Regions from separate parts of the Homo sapiens genome. Here regions 2 and 3 are each linked to region 1. Evidence: promoter capture Hi-C in 16 types of primary human blood cells and fetal thymus (Javierre and others, 2016). All regions are on one chromosome and are shown on one strand. The core of a region is centred on a gene start or on the middle of the fragment in contact, and the rest is flanking DNA. Distances in the headings are between cores, read along the strand shown. Region 1 holds the start of BOLL (boule RNA binding protein). Region 2 has its middle 64 kb from the start of GTF3C3. Region 3 has its middle 47 kb from the start of GTF3C3.

Region 1 (2,978 bases), core at 239-2,738:
TCTTTCTGCCCATTTGTTTACAGTGTCAAAATTACCTATTTGCTAAATTTAAAAAATCATTCTTCATGAAATTCTCTTATTGAAAATAAGATGTACTAATATGTTCGCAAGTTTAAGTAAAAGACAAACCCCATTATATTTCATTGAGAGAAGGATGAAATGAACGGAAGTAAACAGTGCTTTATTTCCAATCTCGAGAAACTAAAGGATACTCCCTGAGAAAAGAAAAACAACCTTTCACACTCAATTCACTTCATTCTCCTCCACTCTCTAAGGCTCTATTGTGGGCTCGCTCTGCTTAAGTTTTCTCCCTCATCATTTTCTAACATACGATATAGTTTACTTAGTATGTTTATTATCTGTCTCCACTATTATGTAATGCACCAGGGCAGAAGTTTTGCTTTTTTCATGGCAGCATCTAAAGTACTGACAGTACACAGCAGGTGCTCAATAAATATCTGTTGAATGACTAAAAGTGAATCATTTCTTCAGGAGAGACCTGCTCATGATATGCCAAATAGGCTGAAGGCTAAAGAATACAGTATAACAGCAGTCTAATACATATATATATATATATATATATATATATATATATATATATATATATATATATATATATTTGAGACAGTCTTGCTCTGTCGCCAGGCTGGAGTGCAGTGGCGTGATTTCGGCTCACTGCAACCTCCGCCTCCCTGGTTCAAGAGATTCTCCTGCCTCAGCCTCCTGAGTAGCTGAGACTACAGGTGCGCACCACCACGCCCAGCTAATTTTTTTGTATTAGTAGAGATGGGTTTTCACCATTTTGGCCAGGATGGTCTCGATCTCCTGACCTCGTGATCCGCCCACCTTGGCCTCCCAAAGTGCTGGGATTACAGGCGGGAGCCATCGCGCCAGGCCTACAAAATATTTTAATGTTAGCAATAGCAAGGCTCAGGTGGAGGCAACATCTAAGTTCATTATAAACAATTAGCGATGCATTGAGTTAAACAACAAAGAAAGCCTGAAATTCCACTAGCAATAATTCCGCATGTGTTACGGAAACACCTAGATGGGGACTGTTGCCGGGTTTGAAGGCTCCTCCGTTTGCTAAAACTTCCAGCACTAGAGAGTTTATTAAACTACTCCTCCAAAGCAATGTGCCCTCACTGGCCCCTCCCCTTGAGAATCAACCTCGAGATCTAGCATCTATTTTGCAAACGAAGACAGCAGGAACGGGCGGGCTAACCGTCGCAGTCACTGCCTCGGCGCTCCTCCCCCTCCAAGGCCAGCAAGTTGCGGCACTGGGGGAAATGGCCGCGGCGACAACTTCCTCGAGTTCTCTCGGGTCATCGTGAACTTGGGCACCGAAACGAGGATCCACCCCCTCCCCACCAAAGTGCGGGAGGGAAAAGAAGGCTAGCCAGCGAGAAATTTTGCCCCACAAATCCGCCAGCAGCAGTGGCGGGAAGCCTCAACGGCAGCGACCCCGCCGCTGGCCTCGTGCGCAGCTGGTCCCCACCCTCGCGCGGCGCTCCCTGATTGGCTGCTGGCGGCGGGACGGGGCGGGGCGGGATGGCACGTTGCCGCTGCGCCTCGGGCCTGTGCGGGCAGTCCTCCTTCACTTCCCCAAGTCCACCCTGACTGGCTTGGGTGCACAGCCAGGGCTAGAGTGTCCGGGTCCCGCCTGGGCCACAGGCGGGCCCTGCCAGGTCTCTCAGACCTTCCGGTCCTCGCTGACCAGTCGGGGAGTGGAGGCGTCGACCGCCCTGGCAACTCCTCGCCTTGGGCGGCTGGGTCGAGTTCGGCCGCAGGGAGCGTCAAAGACGCTGCCTAGCCCAATTTCGGCGGGAAAGCGGTTTACCTGCTCGGACTTCGCTGGGTGCCTGGCAGCCCGCCGCCTCCCGAAACATCCACGCCTGAGGTCCCCTGGCCCGTCTACACCCAGTCCAGGCCCCGTGGCGGCGCCTTTCTGACCCCCATGACACAGCCAGACGAGGTCTGCGGGCGGGTGGCTCCTGGCAGCGGTCGATGGGGCACCTGGCCACGTTTCTTCCCAACCAGATAGCGAGCGTTTGGGGCCTTCACCTCGCCCCTCCAAGCCCTCAGGGACAGGCTCCACGCTGCTCCTTCTCCCCGCTATCCCGCGCCCTGGGGCCCTGATCGCCGTACTCACCGGCCCGGACTCGGTTTCCATCTTCCTCTCTGCTCTTCAGAGACGCGGGGTAGGGAAAAGAAGCCTAAAGTTTGAAACCACCTTCACGCCAAGGCAGCAGCGCTGCTTGTCCTGCCTGGGACTCTCGCCCCCTGGCGGCGAGGGTGGCTGTGGCAGCTGCAGGGAAGCAGGCTCGGACCCCGGCCCTGAACCTGCCACCTGGCGGGTGGGGAGAAGCGGACTGCGTCGCCTCGGGTGGCAGGTGGCGGTGCGGGCGGGCGCTGCAAGCCGGAGAGGGGCGCGGGAGGGCGAGTTTCGGCTGTGGCCCTGGGACTCCGAGCCGGGGCGTCTCAGGGGCAGAGCGCACGGCACAGCGGGGCGGGCGTGGGGCGTGCGGAGCGAGGGCTCGGTTCTGGGACCCCTCTCGCCTTCTCTCAGACGGCTGGGGAGGAGAGAGCGAGCGGTCAGGCAAAGCTCCATGCACGCCTTCCCCTCTCCTCCACTTGAGAAGAGTCGGCCTCTGGGACTGGTGGGTTTCGAGAGGTTGAGGTGACCTTAAGGCTTTACTGAGGTAGAAGAAGCCGGTTGACGGGCGACTTCCGAAGACTGGTGTAAAGCGAAGAAGGTTCTAGAGTCAAACTCTGACTCTCGGGGCCTGACTCGCAAAACTCGGGGGCTCCCGAGAAGCCGCGGACGCCGCTCTGCACCTGTTGCCGCCGTCACTCATCCCGCCAGGCGGGCGGGGCCGCGCGGGTGGCTTGGTCAGGACCTGCCATTCAGCCCAGTCGGGCTCCGGTGCTCGCCCCGGACGGCGCCCCAAGCGGGTCCCGGCCCCGCTGAGCACCTC
Region 2 (2,978 bases), core at 190-2,689, 1.0 Mb before region 1:
CATTAAAGGGCTGGAGGGAACTAGCTTGGGCCATTTTGCCCTTCTGCCTTCCACCATGTGAGGACACAGCATTCAGCCCCTCTGGAGGAAACAGCAACAAGGTGCCATCTTAGAAATAGGGAACGGGATCCTCACTTGACATGAAATTTGCAAGCACCTTGATCTTGGACTTCCCAGCCTCCCAAACTGTAAGAAGTAAATGTCTGTTCTTTATAAATTACTCAGTCTCAACTGTTTTGTTATAGCAGCAGAGACAGACTAAGAAGACGCCTGGTTATGAAAAATTTAAGTTGTTTGCTGTGTCTCCAAGGGTTGGGCTGTGTTATTTACTGGGTCAGCTAAAGTGAAAGAACACATTTTTTATGGTCTCCTCAAGTTGTCAAACTCCTATGGGATAGGTCACTATCCATAGGAGTTGATATGGTTTGGCTCTGTGTCCCCACCCAAATCTCATGTTGAATTGTAATTCCCAGTGTTGGAGGAGGAGGGGCCTGGTGGAAGGTGATTGGATTATGGGGGCAGTTTTCTCCCTTGCTGTTCTTGTGATAGTGGGTGACTTCTCACAAGATCTGGTTGTTTAAAAGTGTGTAGAATCTCCCTGTTCACTTGTTCTCTCCTACTGCCATGTGAAGATGTGCTTGCTTCCCCTTTGCCCTTCTGCCATGATTATAAGTTTCCTGAGGCCTCCCCAGCCAATGCCTACTGTACAGCCTGTGGAACTGTGAGTCAATTAAGCCTCTTTATAAATTACCCAGTCTCAGGTAGTTCTGTATAGCAGTGTGAGAATGGACTAACACAGGAGTCTCCCCAAAAAGGGATTTATCCCTTTGGGCTCTTTATAAAGATATATAGTCAATTGAGGGTATTGGGGAATTATAACCTTAAAACAGCCTAACCAGGAGCCCCCCAGAATAATTAACCTTGGTCCAGGGTTGGCACTGAAAACCTCGGTGCTGAATTCCACAAAGGAAAAGGATCCCAGTTACTACACAAGGGAGATGATCAACCTTAATGGATTGTAAATGTATTACCGCTTATGTTGTCATGACAGTCACAGTTATATGCCAAGAATATTTATATCCTCCTTTTCCAGAACAAGGACTTTTTTCTTCACTTATGTATTGTCCTCAAAGGGTATCATTATTGATAAAGTTAATCTAACATACCTTTATGTTATTTTTAGATTGGCTATACTAGATTGGGGGAAAGACATAATTAGATTGATGATCATTTCTAGTAAAGCTTGTATTTGTTATGAGGCATATGATAGCTAAATCACAACTATATAAGCTTAAACCAGTAAAGAGAGGAGTATGACCAACAGAATAACAGACAAAGGTATGTTAAGAGAATGTGACAGAAGAATCTTGTTTGGATGGTCTTAGGCCAAAGCTGCCTGTTTTGTGTGGTTATCTGCTTGTTCTGAGGCTTTTGGGTTGGCAGTCAATTTCTGCAGATCATTTGCTTCTGAAAGCCCTTCACAGAACTTTGGAATCTCTAATGGGTATAACTTTCTGATTCTATTAAGACCTTTTCTGTTTTTCCAGAGGATTGAAGTGATATGAGCAATAAGGGTTCATTTAAAAAGCAAAGCTTGTATAATTCAAATCATGAAAAACCATTCCAGCTTAATGTGTCCCTGTATTATTAGATAGATGTAATATCCTTGGTGGGAAACACAAACTCGAATCCTTTTTTAGCCATTTTAAGTGCTAGCTTTTTGACAAGGGAATGTTTCCATTCATCCAGAAAATAAATATACCATTATTACTGTATATAACACACACAGAATCAAGTAGTTATATACAATCCATTTGGATGTACTCAAAGAGTCTTTTAGGGTATGGTTCTAGTTCATACCCCACCTTTATAATTTTTCCAAATTAATTTCATTACAGATGAAACATTATCTGGCCACATCCTTTGCCATGCTAAAAAAGTTTCTATCAGTGATTAATATTGTGGCAAATTTTTTCGTTCTGTGATAGGTTGTTTTATAGAGGATTTTAGCAAGTGTCTATTTGAAGGTGTTTTTTTTTTTCTCTTATTTTAAGTTCAGGGGTACATGTGCAGAGTGTGCAGGTTTGTTACATAGGTAAACATGTGCCATGGTGGTTTGCTGCACAGATCATCCCATCACCTAGGTATTAAGCCCAGCATCCATGAGCTATTCTTCCTGATGCTGTTTCTCCCCCTACCCTGCCCCCTATAGGTCCCAGTGTGTGTTGTTGCCACTCATGTGTCTATGTGTTCTTATCATTCAGCTCCCACTTATAAGTGAGAACACATGGTGTTTGGTTTTCTGTTTCTGTGTCAGTTTGCAGAGGATAATGGCTTCCAACTTCATGTCCCTGCAAAGGACATGATCTTATTCCTTTTCATGGCTGCATAGTATTCCATGGTATATATGTACCACATTTTCTTTATAGTATAGATTGGCTATACTAGATTGGGAGAAAGACATAATTAGATTGATGATCATTTCTAGTAAAGCTTATATTTGTTATAAGAGGCATATGATAGCTAAATCACAACTATATAAGCTTAAACCAGTAAAGAGAGTTTACTCCTCTCTTTGATGGGCATTTAGGGTTAATTCCATGTATTTGCTATTGTGAATAGTGTTGCAGTGAACATACACGTGCATGAATCTTTATAACAGAATGATTTATATTCCTTTAGGTATGTTTCCAGTAATGGGATTGCTGGGTCAAATGGTATTTCTGCCTCTAGGTCTTTAAGGAATTGCCACACTCTCTTCCACAGTGGTTGAACTATTTACATTCCCACCAACAGTGTAAATGCTTTCCTTTTTCTCCACCACCTTGCCAGCATCTGTTTTTTTTTTGTTTTTGTTTTTTTTTTTTTTTTTTTGACTGTTTCATAATAGCCATTCTGACTGGCATGAGATGATATCTCATTGTGGTTTGGATTTTCATTTCTTTTTTTTTTTTTTTGAGACGGAGTCTCACTCTGTG
Region 3 (2,978 bases), core at 305-2,804, 1.0 Mb before region 1:
ATTTTTCTAAACACAATCCAACTTTATTTTGAAGTTTCATGTTGGCCATAAAAGGGGAAAAAAATTGATAAACTTGATGATACTAAAATCTAAAACTTGAGTCTTAAAGACACCACAAATAAAGTGAAAAGTGACAAAGGCTTAATACTAGAATAAGAATGCCTATGATTCAATAAGAAATATGATCCAATTTTTTAAAAATTGGCAGAGAATCTCAAAAGCGATCCAGAGAAGAAAGAAAAATCCAAAAGGTTTATAAATATATGAAAAGATAGATTTCAACTTAACCAGTATGCAAATGAAACAATTATTTTTCACATATCTGTTGGGACAAAAATATGAAGTTTGAAGCAAGCGTGGGGAAACAGGTATCCTCACACAACTGATACAGCCATTTGGGAGGGCATCGTGGCAGCATGTACTGTGTTCAAATGCATGTACCCTACAATCCAGGAATTATGGCTATGTACACAAGGAGGCACGCAGTTTTTTTCTTTCTCCCCTGGAGAGGCTAACTTGGTTCCTACAGGTCCTGTGCATCCTAGGAGGAAAACTTTAGGCCTTTCCATGTAAATTATCTGCAAGACAAACAGACCTTTATATTGTTAACATTGACACTTGCAGCAGAACTTCAGTGTGTTAGCGCCTTACCATCTCTTTTCTCTCGGGCTTACCAGAGAGACCCTCTAGGAAAACAATGGGAATAGGAAGAGAAAAGATATTGAGGAGAGGGGGAAAAAACCTATCCTGTTACTTAGCAGCTGAAATTATCAAGATATTTTTGGCCTTTAAAAATTTCCTAGAGTTAATGTGAATTGTTTTTCACTCATTCCAAAGCTGGCTTTAGTCTGCAACTCGAAGGTAAACTTTTTCGTTTCGTGGCACACAGAATACACAGCACTATATGTAAGGTATGCTGAGATGAATGGTAAAGGCTGCTCTGGGATTTGCTGGCTTCCCCAAGGCCTGACAGGTGATCACACTTGCTCCCAGCACAAAGTTGGAGCACTGTCTTTTTTTTTAAAATACTTTAAGTTCTGGGGTACATGTGCAGAACATGCAGGTTTGTTACATAGGTATACATGTGCCATGGTGGTTTGCTGCACCCAGCAACCCATCATCTACATTATGTATTTCTCCTAATACTATCCCTCCCCTAGCCCCCTACTCCACAACAGGCCCAGGTGTGTGATGTTTCCCTCCATGTGTCCATATGTTATCATTGTTCAACTCCCACCTATGAGTGAGAACATGCAGTGTTTGGTTTTCTGTCCCTGTGATAGTTTGCTGAGAATGAAGGTTTCCAGCTTCATCCATGTCCCTGCAAAGGACATGAACTCATTTTTTTACGGCTGCATAGTATTCCATGGTGTATATGTGCCACATTTTCTTTATCCAGTCTATCATTGATGGGCATTTGGGTTGGTTCCAAGTCTTTGCTATTGCGAACAGTGCCACAGTAAACATACGTGTGCATATGTCTTTATAGTAGAATGATTTATAATCCTTTGGGTATCTACCCAGTAATGGGATTGCTGGGTCAAATGGTATTTCTGGTTCTAGATCCTTGAAGGAATCACCACACTGTCTTCCACAATGGTTGAACTAATTTACACTCCTACCAACAGCGTAAAAGTGTTACTATTTCTCCACATCCTCTCCAGCATCTGTTCTTTCCTGACTTTTTATTGATCGCTATTCTAACTGGCATGAGATGGTATCTCATTGTGGTTTTGATTTGCATTTCTCTAATAATGGTGATGATGAGCATTTTTTCATATGTTTGTTGGCTGCATAAATGCCTTCTTTTGAGAAGTGTCTGCTCATATCCTTCACCCAGGTTTTGATAGGGCTCTTTTTTTCTTGTAAATTTGTTTAAGTTCTTTGTAGATATTAGTGCTTTGTCAGATGGGTAGATTGCAAAAATTTTCTCCATTCTGTAGGTTGCCTGTTCACTCTGATGATAGTTTCTCTTGCTGTGCAGAAGCTCTTTAGTTTAATTAGATCCCATTTGTCTATTTTGGCTTTTGTTGCCATTGCTTTTGGTGTTTTAGCATGAAGTGTTTGCCCATGCCTGTGTCCTGAATGGTATTGCCTAGGTTTTCTTCTAGGGTTTTTATGGTTGTATGTCTTATGTTTAAGTCTTTAATCCATCTTCAGTTAATTTTTGTATAAGATGTAAGGATGTAAGGAAGGGATCCAGTTTCAGCTTTCTGCATATGGCTGGCCAGTTTTCCCGAAACCATTATATTAAATAGGGAATCCTCTCCCCATTGCTTGTTTTTGTCATGTTTGTCAAAGATCATATGGTTGTAGATGTGTGATGTTATTTCTGAGGTCTCTGTTCTGTTCCATTGGTCTATATATTTGTTTTGGTACCAGTACCATGCTGTTTTGGTTACTGTAGCCTTGTAGTATAGTTTGAAGTCAGGTAGCATGATGCCTTCAGCTTTGTTCATTTTGCTTAGGATTATCTTGGCAATGTGGGCTCTTTTTTGGTTCCATATGAAATTTAAAGTAGTTGTTTCCAATTCTGTGAAAAGTCAATGGTAGCTTGATGGGGATAGCATTGAATCTGTAAATTACTTTGGGAAGTATGACCATTTTCATGATATTGACTCTTCCTGTCCATGAGCATGGAATGTTTTTCTATTTGTTTGTGTTCTCTCTTATTTCCTTGAGCAGTGGCTGGTAGTTCTCCTTGAAGAGGTCCTTCATATCCCTTATAAGTTGTATTCCTAGGTATTCTATTCTCTTTGTAGCACTTGTGAATGGGAGTTCACTCATGATTTGGCTCTCTGTTTGTCTGTTATTGTGTATAGGAATGCTTGTGATTTTTACACATTGATTTTGAATCCTAAGACTTTGCTGAAGTTGCTTATCAGCTTAAGGAGATTTTGGGCTGAGATGATAGGGTTTTCTAAATATACAATCTTGTCATCTGCAAACAGAGACAATTTGACTTCCTCTTTTCCTAA

Evidence for each region. Contacts are between HindIII fragments. The CHiCAGO score rates a contact against its expected background, and 5 or more counts as called.
Region 2: a contact is called between a fragment that was not itself captured here and the fragment with the promoter of BOLL in region 1, in 1 of 17 cell types (total B cells). The highest score is 5.4, in total B cells.
Region 3: a contact is called between a fragment that was not itself captured here and the fragment with the promoter of BOLL in region 1, in 4 of 17 cell types (total CD4 T cells, activated CD4 T cells, naive B cells and 1 more). The highest score is 8.3, in total CD4 T cells.

The regions. Positions count from the first base shown.
Region 1 is chr2:197,783,831-197,786,808 of GRCh38, forward strand. BOLL (boule RNA binding protein) reads right to left here and starts at 1,489. Exons shown (of 11, transcript NM_033030.6): 1 at 1,226-1,489. RefSeq lists an enhancer at 2,665-2,894. The HindIII fragment of the contact is 5,410 bases long and covers 1-2,978 here.
Region 2 is chr2:196,734,468-196,737,445 of GRCh38, forward strand. No RefSeq gene overlaps it. Among named protein-coding and RNA genes, the nearest start is that of GTF3C3, 64 kb to the right of the region's middle. The HindIII fragment of the contact is 303 bases long and covers 1,289-1,591 here.
Region 3 is chr2:196,751,627-196,754,604 of GRCh38, forward strand. No RefSeq gene overlaps it. Among named protein-coding and RNA genes, the nearest start is that of GTF3C3, 47 kb to the right of the region's middle. The HindIII fragment of the contact is 3,642 bases long and covers 1-2,978 here.